Linked DNA regions of Homo sapiens: region 1 is linked to region 2. The links are contacts of gene promoters, found by promoter capture Hi-C in human tissues and cell types (Jung and others, 2019). All regions are on one chromosome and are shown on one strand. Each heading gives the region's core, a stretch centred on a gene start or on the middle of the fragment in contact. The rest is flanking DNA. Distances are from core to core; before and after follow the strand shown. Region 1 overlaps CCDC88A (coiled-coil domain containing 88A). Region 2 holds the start of MTIF2 (mitochondrial translational initiation factor 2).

Region 1 (6,677 bases), core at 623-3,122, 97 kb after region 2:
TATTTGATTTGTTTCTAACAGAGCAAAGTTACCAGAGGCAAACTTAAAAAATATATACATGAGTACACACGTAACCAAATGGAATAAAGGGGGTAATTCTTTATTGTGTAACTTTTAAAAAGCTTTATATAAATTAAAAATATTAAAATGCAAAACAATCTTTTCCTTCCAGTCAGCATTAACAATTTAACATGCATTTTAATCTCCACCTTCACCTACATCTCTAATGCTGCAAACCAACTGCTAGTATCACTGTATTCTTACAGCTAACAAATGCAAAGTGCCTACAAAATAGACAGCACTGCCTTGTCTAACTTAGATGCATCTCCTGGGCCAATTACTGAACTACTAGTGAGGACAATATAGTCACAAAATTACAAACTAGCTCTTTGATCATGAAACTTATAAGGCTCTGATTTATGCTTTACGTGTTTATTTTATCAAACTGTAATGCTATATTTTCTACTACTATACAATTTAAATACACTTCCATCAATGCAGAAAGTTCTATATCTTGTAAACACAGAATTATTAGGATAATAAAATGGTTAAAACTAAATTACCAGAAATGTATAATTCCTAGCTGTGATTAGGAAGTCAGAGTTTTGGGTGGATGGAATAAAACTTAGTGGGTTTAAACTCAAGAATTTTTTTCTAGCAAATAATACTTGACAGGCCTTGTAAGAACAATTAAGAATTACGTTCTAATCATAAATTCATAGCATATATAACATAATTAACTTTTCAGGTATAGTAACATCAATTTTAAAATTTAACACTACCAAAATTGTTGACCTACACAGTTTCTGAACCTATCAGAACACAAAACAGCATAATTATTATCAAAGGTAATGACTATGACTCACCAAAGAGTTCCTTAATTCAACTGCCGTATCTTTCTCTGCCTTCAGTTTAGACTAAATAGATATACTTCCCTTTTCTAAGCCAGAGCCACTTGTTTTTTACTTGTACTATCTTTAGGAGCTCGTCCTTTAGCACAATCTCAACACAAATCAATGAAAATTTTCCCTTTACTCTTGTAACACACACGATTTCTACTAAATCTCACACCTTAATTTAACTCTTAGAAGCTAAGCATTCTCAAAATGTTTTATAAACAGGTTGGGCTTCCCTAAGGATACAGAATAAATTTCATAGGCTTTTGAAGGCTAAAAAAGAGAAAGACTGTCAAGATGGAAAAAAGAATAAAATATTCACACTTTGAAGCTGAATAATCAGATCAAATTTCTATATGAGAGCTGCCCAATACGGTGATCATTAGCTATATGCAGCTACTGAGTACCTGAAATGTAGCTAGTGCAACTGGGAAACTGAAATTTTAATTTAATTGTAATTAATTTTAATTTAAATAGCCACATGCGGCTAGTGGCTACTGTATTGAATAGGCCAGCTCCAGAGCATGAGAAAGTCTGGTGTTAAAAACAGATATATAGCTTAATACCAGCTGTGAAGACTAAATAATATCAGCAAATTGTTTTTTCCAATTAAAATTAAGCTCTCTTATCTTTATGTAAAGTTCTTAAACTATCATGGGCACTAAAATTAATTTTTTAACTCTATTGTATTATAGTAACTGATTACTAAGCCAGTAGATTACCATGATATTCTAAGAATACGACATGGAGGCCAGGCGTGATGGCTCAAGCCTGTAATCCCAACACTTTGGGAGGCTGAGGCAGCTGGATCACCTGAGGTCAGGAGTTCAAGACCAGCCTGGCCAACATGGTGACACCCTGTCTCTATTAAAAATACAAAAAATTAGCCAGGCATGGTGGCAGGCGCCTGTAATCCCAGCTACTTGGGAGGCTAAGGCAGAAGAATTGCTTGAACCCAGGAGGCGGAGGTTGTAGTGAGCCAAGATTGCGCCACTACACTCCAGCCTAGGCAACAGAGCAAGACTCTGTCACACACACATACACACACACACACACACACACACACACACACACACACACACAAGATATGATGTGGAAACTTGGACATAGGAAAAAAGCAAAAAAAGTGATTAGGGTGGGAGGTGGGTGGGAGAGATATGCATAAACCCTAAAGTTGTACATCTTCTACCAGAGATCTTAAGCCCTTAATACTTTATTCCTCAAATTCCTCATATTTTCAATACCTGCTCTATGATCTTAAAGAAAGAAGACAGGTTTATATGGAAAAGCTATACTAAAATAGAGGAAATGGCACCCAAAACAAGCTATTGAACAAGAAAATAATAAGACAAGGAACACATTATAGTGTTTTAAATAAGAAAACCGATAATATAGGTCTAAACAAATCATAGTTCTACCAAAGAGCAATAAGCAGGGATTCAAACAGACATTTGTACACTCATGTTCATAGCAACATTGTTTACAAGGGCCAAAAAATGGAGGCAACTCAAGTGTTCATCAATGATGAATGGATGAACAAAATTTGGCATATATAAATAATGGAATATTATTCAGCCTTAATAAGGAAGGAAACTGACACATGCTATAGCATGAAAAAACCTTAAAGACATTACGCTAAGTGAAATAAGCCCATCAAAAGGACAAATACTGTATGATTCCATTTATATGAGGTACCTAGAACAATCGAATTCATAGAGACATAAAGTAAAATGGTGGTTACCGAGGTCTGGTAACAAAGGGAGTCATCATTTAATGGGTACAGAGTTTTAGCTTCAGAAGATGAGAAAAATTCTTCAGATGGATGGTGGTAATGGTTACACAACAATGTGAATGTACAGCAATCAGAATACCACTGAACTATATACTTAAAAAATTGTTAAAATGGTAAATTTCCTATTATGTATTTGAAAACAATACTTGTATCAACAAAAGTCTCCCTCTTTGAGCTATATTTGTATTTTTAAATATTCTCAGAAAAACAAATGCCTTGCTAGAAATTGTTTTATTTCCTTGTTTTTTTTTAAGAGACTGGGTCTTGCTACGTTACCAGGCTGGAACACAGTGGTTATTCACAGGCATGATCATACCATATGGCTGCCTTGAACTCCTGGCCTCAAGTGATCCTCCCAAGTAGCTGAGACTAAAGGCGCATCATTGAACCAAGCAGAAACTTGTTTTATTTCTAAAATGTTAACCTTTAAGATGCTTTACAGATCATTGATAAGTAAACAATAGATTGTAGCCATCAAACTAACCAAGTTCAAAACTGGTTTTCAGAATCAAATACTAACGGTAGATTCCTTCTAAGGGTACATAAAAGGGTCAAAATTTTAATTCCAACCACACTTGACACTCAGTTACTTTCAGCACTACCCAACCTGGCCAAAGTCCAAAATAAGTAATATTTCTGGATACTAAGCAGCCTGCACTGATAGGTATTATGTAGGTTTTAAGTTCTGCTAAAAAGAGATGAATTTCACATAGTCTTAGAACAAAGAAATTTCCAAACAAAACACTGCAAAACTTTTTCTTCTGCATAGGATGGTTTCACCTAGGACTCTCTAACTACTTCAGGGCTAGGATGAAGAGTCACAGATGTGTGAAAATTCTAGGTGATGCTCAGAACTGGTTCAGAAGACTTGGGTTGCCCATTGAAAAAGATTCTGGAGGAACTTGACTGAGTTGGACAGCCAATAACAAAAATACCCAAGCCCTGGCCTTGGATGGTTTTCTTCATATTTAAAGTTATTTATGTGGCTTTTACTTACATATAATCAAGGATTAAAAGTCATAATTTATTTTGTCAGGTAAGATCTTTGGATAATGGTTAACTTTACTGTTTTTGAATGCTGCTTCCTCTTAAGAATTTCATTTTTTTTCTTCAAAAGAAGAAAACATTTTTCAATTTCCCAATGCTTGTTTCTCTCTCTCTTTCCCCCCTCCCTCTCTCTCTCTTTCTCCCTCTTTAATTAAAAAAAAATTTTTTTTTGTATAAATAGAGTTTCCTTATGCTGCCCAGGTTGATCTCAAACTCCTGGCCTCAAGCAATCCTCCTGCCTCAACCTCCCATAGTGCTGAGATTACAGGCATGACCCACTGCACCCAGCCCTATTTCTTTTCATGAATATAGTATCTCTTGAAACCTGTGGTCCACTGATTTCCTAAACTTTAGTATCAGCAAATTGTATCTTGCTATTTCTATCTACAAATAACAATTATAACAGATAAAATTGATTGACCTAGATGTGGGAAAACATGCTATTTACATATTAGAATTTTAATCTGTTCAACTATAAGATGAACAAATTTTCTGAAATAGAGAGGACATTTTACAAAATATTCCAACAATACTTGTTGGCTGATTGGTTTCCTCAATAGCTTCTTGTCCAGAAACACATTCTGGCTATTAAGTATCAACAAAGACTTCTAATTGTTTATATGGTCACAGCTGAAGGCTGACAGATTTTGGTCACACATTTTATATTATTAGTAGTAGTGGCTCCAAAACACCCACAGAATAATTTTTTTCTTTTTTTTGAGATGGAGTCTTGCTCTGTCACCCAGGCTGGAGTGCAGTGGCACAATCTTGGCTCACTGCAACCTCCGCCTCCTGGGTTCCAGCAATTCTCCTGCCTCAACTTCCCGAGTAGCTGGGATTACAGATGCCCACTACCACACCCGGCTAATTTTTGTATTTTTAGTAGAGACAGGGTTTCACTATGTCAGCCAGGCTGGTCTGGAACTCCTGACCTCAGGTGATCCACTGTTCCGGCCTCCCAAGTGCTGAGATTACAGGTGTGAGCCACCATGTCTGGCCTGAAATCTGAACTCTATCTTAAAGTGGCAAATCCAGTCCTTCATAACTCAATTCATGTAAACTCTCCAGTCTAATACCTTGCCACTCATCCCCATGAATCCTACGTTTCAACCACACTTTTTTTTTTTTTTTTTTTTGAGATGAAGTCTTGCTCTGTCGCCCAGGCTAGAGTGCAGTGGAGCCATCTCAGCTCACTGCAACCTCCATCTCCCAGGTTCAAACCGTTCTCCTGTCTCAGCCTCCTGCGTAGCTGGGACTACAAGCGCAAGCCACTATGCCCAGCTATTTTTTTGTATTTTTCTTTTGGCAGAGACAACGTTTTACCATGTAGCCAGACTGGTCTTGAACGCCTCACCTCAAATGATCCACCCACCACCACCCCTGGCCCAACCACACTTCATGTTCCTTGAATAGGGTGTTTTCTCAACATCTTTGCTCTCATTTCAAATATTACCTTGTCAGAGGGCTTTCCTAATACTACCAGTAAACTTAAGAAAATACTTCTTCAATGCACCAATGTATATTACATTACGGTAATTATCACCTCAAACTCGTACTGTTTACTCTTGTCTTCTCTAAAATTCAAACTCCTTGAGCTTTACGTCTTTTTTCTAAAATCCTTGTCCCTGTCCTTTACTATAGCACCCATAAACATTAAAAGAAAAAAATTAGGTCACTAACATTTTTGAAATGCAGAATGATAACATTTTTCAAAATTGGATCCTTCCTCTTTTCTTGGTAGATACATCATTCTGGCACCACAATAGATGCAAGTCTTAAGGGCTCTCAAGTAAAAGCATAATTCTGCTATGACTACATGGACATAAAATATATATAAAGATGGGTCTTTAAGTTTCTTGACAAGCTGATATCATATCAAAAACCAAGGTCTGACACCCTTTCCATCTCCTCATTTCTAAAAAACCTTGAATGATGTTAACATAGGTTAGAATGATGGTCTCCTTGAGCCTTTGCTTTGTTTTCTACAGTTGATAAAACCTATTCTCTCTTCATATGAAAAAAATTAGGCCGGGCATGATGACTCAAGCCTGTAATCCCAGCACGTTGGAAGGCCGAGGCGGGCAGATCACCTGAGGTCAGGGTTTTGAGACTAGCCTGGCCAACATGGTGAAACCCTGTCTCTACTAAAAATAAAAAATTAGCCAGGTGTGGTAGCACACATCTATCATCCCAGCTACTTGGTAGGTTGAGGCAGGATAATCACCTGAACCTGGGAGGCAGAGGTTGCAGTGAGCCAAGATAATACCATTGCACTCCAGCCTGGGCAAAAAGAACGAAACTCTGTCTCAAAAAAAAAAAAAAAAAAAAAAAAAAGAGAATTAACTTGCATATAATTAGTCTTTCTTTATTCTCAGATAAATTTACCCTTTGGGGCCAGGCAGGGTGGCTCATGCCTGTAATCCCAGTACTTTGGGAGGCCGAGGCAGGAAGATCACTTGAGGTCAAGAGTTTGAAACCAGCCTGGGCAACACAGTGAGGCCCCATTTCTTAAAAAAAAAAAAAAAAAAATTAACCAGGCATGGTGGCACATGCCCGTAGTTCCAGCTGCTCAGGAGCCTGAAATGGGAAGATCATTTGAACCCTGGAGGTCAAGGCTGCAGTGAGAGGCGTGATCATGACACTGCACTCCTGCCTGACAGAGTGAGACCCTGTCTCAAAAAAAGGTCCTTGGTTCTGCTCCATTCCTACTGTGAATTCTAGTAATCAGCAATAACCACCAAGCAATAACCAGCAATAAAAACCATATTTATGCTATTGCTATGTAATCTAAATTTACGCAACATTCACCAACACAGGGTATTTTTTAAAGCAAATATAGTACATAAAGGCTGTAAATACGAGTTGTGTTTCTAACTCAAAATCTGATGACCAAATTAGAAGACCATATTCAACTTAATATTTAATCAATTGTGAAGTAAACA
Region 2 (7,373 bases), core at 4,759-7,258:
ATCCTGTATCCTTAATTCACTGTTTTACACTGATTTCCAAGGAACCAAATTCATCAGCACCACACAATTAACCGGAACTTCCCTTTCTCACAAAGCTCTATTGCTTGGAGTAATACTTTATTGCATTAAGTAATAAATATTCTGTAAATGATAAATTACTCAAAATGGATTTGTACTCATGGTTCTAGGCACTTTCATTTTAGACCGAGTAATAAAATAACTTACAGAAATCTGTAACTATAGCGGGTGCGGTGGCTAATGCCTGTAACCCCAGCTACTCAGGAGGCTGAGGCAGGAGAATTGCTTAAACCCAAGAGGCGTAGGTTGCGGTGAGCTGAGATCGCGCCACGGCACTCCAGCCGGGGTGACAGGGTGAGACTCCATCTCAAAAAAAAAAAAAAAGAAATCTGTAACTACCTTTTTTGTTACTAGAAGCCTATACTGAGATAAAGCAGCCCCAGTGAGCACATCTGTTGGCCAGGGCCAGGCACACAGTTGAGCTGTCCACACAGGGTAAGCAGATGAAAACCCATGCCTCCACTGTCTTAATGCTCTTCTTTGACACAGACTGTGCAGTTGCCTATAAATAGTGTGAAATCGTAGCAAGTTCTCCAACTTCAGTAGCTTCTGGTTCATGTTTCTCCTGGGGAAAAAAAAAAGGTTTTAAAATAATATTCAAATCAAGTTAGCAAATATTAATTGGATATTTACTATATGCATAGCACTGGACTACACTTAGCTCACTAGACTTACAACAATGAGTAAAACTGGGTTCCTGCCCTGAAAAATCTCAGTCTCATCAAGAGATGGGATTCCATAACAAGTACTCTCTAAATACTAGCTATTATTATTACTGTTAATGTTACCACTATGATAGAATTGAAATACAATAACAACTTGTAAAAGGCTCTTTTTTCACTCTTGAAATATCAACTAACCAAATCACAACTAGAGTAATGTTTCTAAAGTGCGAATTCCAAATGATAACATTTCTGTTAAACACCCTGAAACTTCTTTTTTGAAACCGGGTCTCACTCTATCATCCAGGCTGGAGGCTGGAATGCAGTGGTATGGTCACAGCTCATTGCAGCCTCGACCTCCCAGGCTAAGGTGATGCTCTCACCTCAGCCTCCCTAATAGCTGGGACTAGAGGTGCGCACCACTATGCCCAGATAATTTTTTGTTTGTTTTTTTGGTAGAGATGGTGTTTCACCACATTGTCTAGGTTAGTCTCAAACTCCCGGGATCTAGTGATCCACCTTGGCCTCCCACAGTGTTGAAATTACAGGCATGAGCCACCATGCCCAGCCTTACTTTATTTCTTACACTCTTAGAGTCTCTACACTCCTACCTCTCAAGCTTTTGTTATTGTAACCCACCTGTCATCTCTAATGGTTTCTCATCTCAGCTCTGAAACTTTGCACACACTTCCTCTAGTTGGAATCGTCTTTGAACTCTTAACACTTTTCCATCTTCCCATCTCACCCCCTAAAAAAAGATGCTTTATAGTAGGAAGAAGACACCCAATATTTATTGAATAATGCCTTTTGAGTATTATTCTTAGAATAAAAGAAGAGTTTTTTTGAGAAAAAACTGTAACAGAACTCATTAGTAATATAGTTCTTTTCCTCCCCGTGGCCTCTATTGCCTCTGCTCTCAAGACTGCATTTCTATGGCTTTGCTTTTCAGTTTTTAAGGACAGGAACGACAAAAACAACGTAAAAAGAACATGTTTTCCAGCTGGGTGTGGTGGCTCATGCCTGTAATCCCAGCACTTTGGGAGGCCGAGGTGGGCGGATCACCTCAGGTCAGGAGTTCGAGACTAGCCTGGCCAACGTCGTGAAACCCTGTCTCTACTAAAAATACAAAAATCAGCCGGACATGGTGGCGGGCGCCTGCAATCCCAGCTACCCAGAAGGCTGAGGCAGGAGAATCACTTGAACCCGGGAGGTCGAGGTTGCAGTGAGCCGAGATCATGCCATTGCACTCTAGCCTGGACGACAAGAACAAAACTCTGTCTTGAAAAAAAAAAAAAAAATGAAGAAGAACATGTTTTCTTCTTAGGAAACATTTCCTAAGTACCATATGCCAGGCTTTCTGCTTGATATTGTTGATTCAAAGTTTAATAAGCCAGGTTCCATTCCACAAACAGTTCATTGTCGTTAAAGCAAGCTTGCCAATACAATGAATCTCAGGCACACGAGACACTACCTATGATGACTGATTATAACCTAGGGTCGTGTTTTCATTGCAATAATATGCAAAATTATTTCTATAAATTGTAAAGTCATTTTAAGGTTTTTTTTGTTTGTCTGTTTGCTTTTCAATGGAGAGTACATTTCCAAGTAGTGGGTATAGCCTTTTAGACTCTTCAGTATAGATTTTCTTTTACTCACTACTCAAAAATAACTTTAGTTAACATTTTAATATATATATTTTCAACTCTTTTCTTTGTGCTTTTATCTATTTTACTCACAAAAATAAGGTCATATTAATTTTGTTTTACAACTTTTTACACTAAAGAATACATTGTGAATATTATTTTATATCATTAAACATTACTAATCAGCCCTTTGTATCCATGTGTTCCACATTTGTGGATTCAAACAATTGTGGATCGAAAATTTTTTTAATTTTTTAAAAAGATGGTTCTGTCTCTACTGAATATGTACACCTTTTTCCTTGTCATTATTCCCTAAAGTATACTGTTTACATAGTATTTGCTTTGTATTAGGTATCATAAGTAATCTAGAGATGACATGAAGTATACAATGGTATGTGCTTAGGTTACATGTAAATATACGCCATTTTATATAAGGAACTTGGACATCTGTAAATTTTGGCATGCGGCAGCGGGGGTCCTGGAACCAATGCCCCATAGATACTGAGAGACACATATATTCTTCAGCATTACAAAAAAAAAAGAATGGAAATTATGAACTATTTCAATGCGTTTACCTTAACCATATAAAGCTATCTTGAACAAAATTATAAACTTTTACAAAGCCTTAAAATTTTTGGCCAGGCGCAGTGGCTCATGCCTGTAATCTCAGCACTGTGGGAGGCCAAGGCAGGCAGATCATTTGAGGTCAGGAGTTCGACGCCAGCCTGACCGACATGGTGAAACCCCGTCTCTATTAAAAATACAAAAAAATTACCTGGGCGTGGTGGCACATGCCTGTAGTCCCAGCTACTTGGGAGGCTGAGGCAGGAGAATTTCTTGAACCCGGGAGACAGAGGTTGCAGTGAGCCAAGATCACGCCACTGCACTCCAGCCGGGGAGACAGAGCGAGACTCTGTCTCAAAAAAAAAAAAAATTTTTTTTTAATGATTTATCTCATAATATGGCATTTCTACAATATGCTTATATTTTATATTTATATACAACATATATATTATATAAATATATTTATATTTTCTACTAGATAGTCTTTAAAATTGTTCACAAATGATAATAGTTATTTGATGTGACCAAAGAAATTAAGGCTCTGGACGGGTGATCTTTGCTAGATAACTAGGCATTAAATGCTACATTTCATTCTTTTTTTTTTTTTTTTTTTTTTCAGATGGAGTCTCGCTCTGTTGCCCAGGGTGGAGTTCAGTGGTGTGATCTCAGCCCACTGCAACCTCTGCCTCCTGGGTTCAAGCAATTTTCTCCAGCCTTAGCCTCCCAAGTAGCTTGAACTACAGGTGTGTGCCACCGTGTCAGGCTAATTTTTGTATTTTTAGTAGACACCGGGTTTTACCATGTTGGCCAGGCTAGTCTCAAACTCCTGACCTCAGGTGATCCACCTGTCTCAGCCTCCCAAAGTGCTGGGATTACAGGCGTGAGCCACCACGCCTAGCCTAAATGTTACATTTCAACCAATCTTCCCAAAGTGTATTTTATGGTTCTGACATAGTAAATGTATGGTTCTGACATGGTAAATAGAATATACTGAATTTTTTTTTTTGAGATGGAGTTTTGCTCATCGCTCAGGCTGGAGTGCAATGGCGTGATCTTGGCTCACTACAACCTCCACCTGCTGGGTTCAGGGGATTCTCCTGCCTCAGCCTCCCAAGTCGCTGGGATTACAGGTGCCTGCCAGCACACCCGGCTAATTATTTTGTATTTTTAGTAGAGACGGGGTTTCACCGTGTTGGCCAGGCTGGTCTTGAACTCCTGACCTCAGGTGATCTATCCGCCTTGGCCTCCCAAAGTGCTGGGATTACAGGCGTGAGCCACCGCGCCTGGCCTATACTGAATATTTTTTAAAAGAAAGAAAAGAAATGATAACAGAAACAAGTACAGTATAGCAAAGAAAGTATCTTATTAGGCAACAAAGGAACCTTAGGTGGACACTCACTCTGACAGTCAGTGTTATCTGGACTCAGCAAGTCACTTGTTTCCTATGGGCCTCATTTTCCGGATCTCTGTTAAAAATAAATAAATAAATAAGTGTTTGAATATCTGTCCTTCCTATTACAAGACTAAGAGGAGAAAATGAGATGATGTATATACTTTATCATCAGCTATTTTAAAACCATATCACATGTCTTGATACTCGCTTATAAGCTTTGAGGATTCATTGCTTATAAGTTAAAAATATTCACAAGTCATTAACTTGTTTACCTTCGGACAATTATGAGGTTGTGTATGTGTGTGTAATCGAGCAAGCATTTTACCTTAAAAGGCTTATTCGAGTAAAGATCAAGGAAAAATCTAACTTAATGCCAACGAAATAAACACATTAAGATTTAGAAATTCAGGCTGGGCGTGATGGCTCATGCCTGTAATCCTAGCACTTTGGGAGGTCGAGGCGGGCGGATCACCTGAGGTCAGGAGTTCGAGACCAGCCTGGCCAACATGGTGAAACCCCCTCTCTACTAAAAGTACAAAAATTAGCCGGGTACGGTGGCGGGCGCCTGTAATCCCAGCGACTTGGGAGGCTGAGGCAGGAGAATCGCTTGAACCCAGGAGGCAGAGACTGCAGTGAGCCGAGATCAGGCCACTGCACTCCAGCCTGGGCGACAGTGAGACTCTGTCTAAAGAAAAAAAAAAGAAGATTTGGAAATTCATTCAATAGTATTTACACACATTAAATACTTCTAAGAATGGCACATGGAAAATATCTTATTTACGTTTGTGCCCCTGGACCAAGAAGTAGAGTGCTCAGGTAACACAGGATTCCTTGAGAAAATAATTTTTAAATCAGTATGAAACCAGATTTGAGAAGAGCACAGATTAATGGAGTGGGAGGAAGGACCCTACGAGATATTAACCAAAGCACAGATATGTAATTGAGGCAGGAACTGGAAAGACACATTGGAGGCAATAACCCAAATGTCAAAACTGGAAGGAAACTTGTCACTTACTCCAAGCTCCTCATTTTACAGAAAAGGAAACGGAAATCCAGAAGGGTCAAAAAAGCTTCTCCAATGTCATACCGCTAGTTAATGGCAGTCAAGACTAGAACCCAGACGTTCTGACTCCCAGTACGGTGTTGTTTCGCCGCTAGGATATCCTTGTCAAGGAATCTGAAAAAAGTATGTTGCAAATACGTAGTTGCGTTAGGGAAAACGTCTGAATGTGAGCTGGAAGCTTTGGAACTTACCAGAAAGGTAAAAATAAATCACTGCAGAAAAATTACGGATCTGGGGTGGCTCGCCTCAAATTGGAGCCCAGAAGGCCTTGGGCCCATGGGAGGCTGGGAAGTGAGGACCTGCACCCACAGCCGCGCGCGAGGAGGGGAAGCCGGCCAGCCGCTTCCGAGAGAACAGTGCACATGCCTTCGTGAATGCCTAACGTGGGCTCACGCAGGGATTAAATGCATCTTGGAAAGGCTTCCGAACGCACAATGTTTATGAAGTTCGCGTGATTTGTGCCACTGACACGTTAGGCGAAACAACACACACCACCTGCACCGGACAACCCTGGTTAAGGGATCCTACCCACTTAACTCCTACCTACAGCCCCGGGCCCCTGGATTCTGAGCACGGGCGGAGATCACCTTCTGGACCCGGAAGAATGGTCGGTAGGTCAGTCCGTCCCCGCTACGGTCCCCGCCGGGCTTCCGGTCCCGCTGGAAAAGGTTCTTTCCGGAATTCAGAGAGTTGCTGTCGCCGCTGGGGGTGGGACTGTCTGCGGTGTCCGCGGCGGGCGTCCAGCCTGGGAGGCGCTGGTTCAACCTGTGGCTCCTCCCAGGGTCAGCCGCGCGTGGTGAATCGTTTCTGCAGGTCCCTTCCATTTCTTACTTTCCTTTCCTTTCTTTCTCTCTTTCCTTTTTTTCTTTCTGTCCCTCTCCTTTCTTTCCTTCCTTCCTTTCTTCATTTCTTCCTTCCTTTCCTCTTCCTTCCTTTCCGTTTTTCTTTCTCTTTTTTTTTTTTTTAAGAAAACTGCCTTTATTCAATTAGAAGTTGGAAAAATTAACTGGTACAGAAAAAAAGTGTAATCAGCTGGAGAAAAAGTGCCACCCATGAGAACTGATGGCTCCTCTGGGAGGGAATCTGGATACAGTGAGGATTTCTAGGAAGCAAATTACTTCTTCTCTGGGGCTATGAGAGGCCTCGGTGGTGCTTAACACTGTAGGAAACGTTAAATGGAGAATTGTGGGAGAAATGATACCTCCTTCAAAGATACGTGTTCCTAACAAGAAGGAAAAAACAAATGCAAGCGAACAGTGGCGGTAGAACCAGTTAGTATTGTGCGAACAGTACTTTCTGTTTTCTCCTAAGTCAGCTCGTGTGTATGGCATTAGGAGTAATAGAGCCAGAGTGCCTGGTTTCCTATCCCAGCTCATTCCTAGTGTGTGGTTGGGAATGTTTTGTCAACTGTCCATGTCCCAGTTTGTTCATCTACATTATAGTAATGACAGTAGCTAGTTCACAGGATTGTAATAAGGTTTTTGTTGTGTTTTTGTTTCTATTTGTTTTTGAGATGGAGTTTCGCTCTTGTTGCCCAGGCCGGAGTGCAATGGCACGATCTCAGCTCACCGCAACCTCTGCCTCCCGGGTTCAAGCGATTCTCCTGCCTCAGCCTCCCGAGTAGCTGGGATTACAGGCATGTGCCACCACTCCTGGCTAATTTTGTGTTTCTTGTAGAGACAGGGTTTTTCCATGTTGGTCAGGCTGGTCTCGAATTCCCTATTTCAGATGATCCGCCCACATCGGCCTCCCAAAGTGCTGGGATGACAGGCGTTAGCCACCTCTCCCAGACTGTTTTTTGTTTTTTTTGAGACAGTGTCACTCTGTCGCCCAAGCTGGAGCACAATGGCGCGATCTCGGCTCATTGCAACCAAACTCCGCTTCCTGGGTTCAAGTGATTCTCCCGCCTCAGCCTCCCGCGTAGCTGAGATTACAGGGGCACATCACCATGCCTCACTAATTCACCATGT

What was found. Contacts are between HindIII fragments. The study calls those that stand out against the background at their distance.
Region 1: a fragment that was not itself captured here is called in contact with the fragment with the promoter of MTIF2 in region 2 in 4 of the 25 tissues and cell types used here (adrenal gland, dorsolateral prefrontal cortex, hippocampus and 1 more).

What each region holds. Positions count from the first base shown.
Region 1 is chr2:55,364,599-55,371,275 of GRCh38, forward strand. All of the region lies in intron 5 of CCDC88A (coiled-coil domain containing 88A), which reads right to left. Among named protein-coding and RNA genes, the nearest start is that of CCDC88A, 52 kb to the right of the region's middle. The HindIII fragment of the contact is 6,438 bases long and covers 1-5,091 here.
Region 2 is chr2:55,263,223-55,270,595 of GRCh38, forward strand. MTIF2 (mitochondrial translational initiation factor 2) reads right to left here and starts at 6,009. Exons shown (of 16, transcript NM_002453.3): 1 at 5,947-6,009; 2 at 5,356-5,517; 3 at 4,347-4,413; 4 at 418-643. The coding sequence starts at 636. RefSeq lists enhancers at 5,952-6,101, 6,047-6,870. The HindIII fragment of the contact is 5,929 bases long and covers 4,983-7,373 here.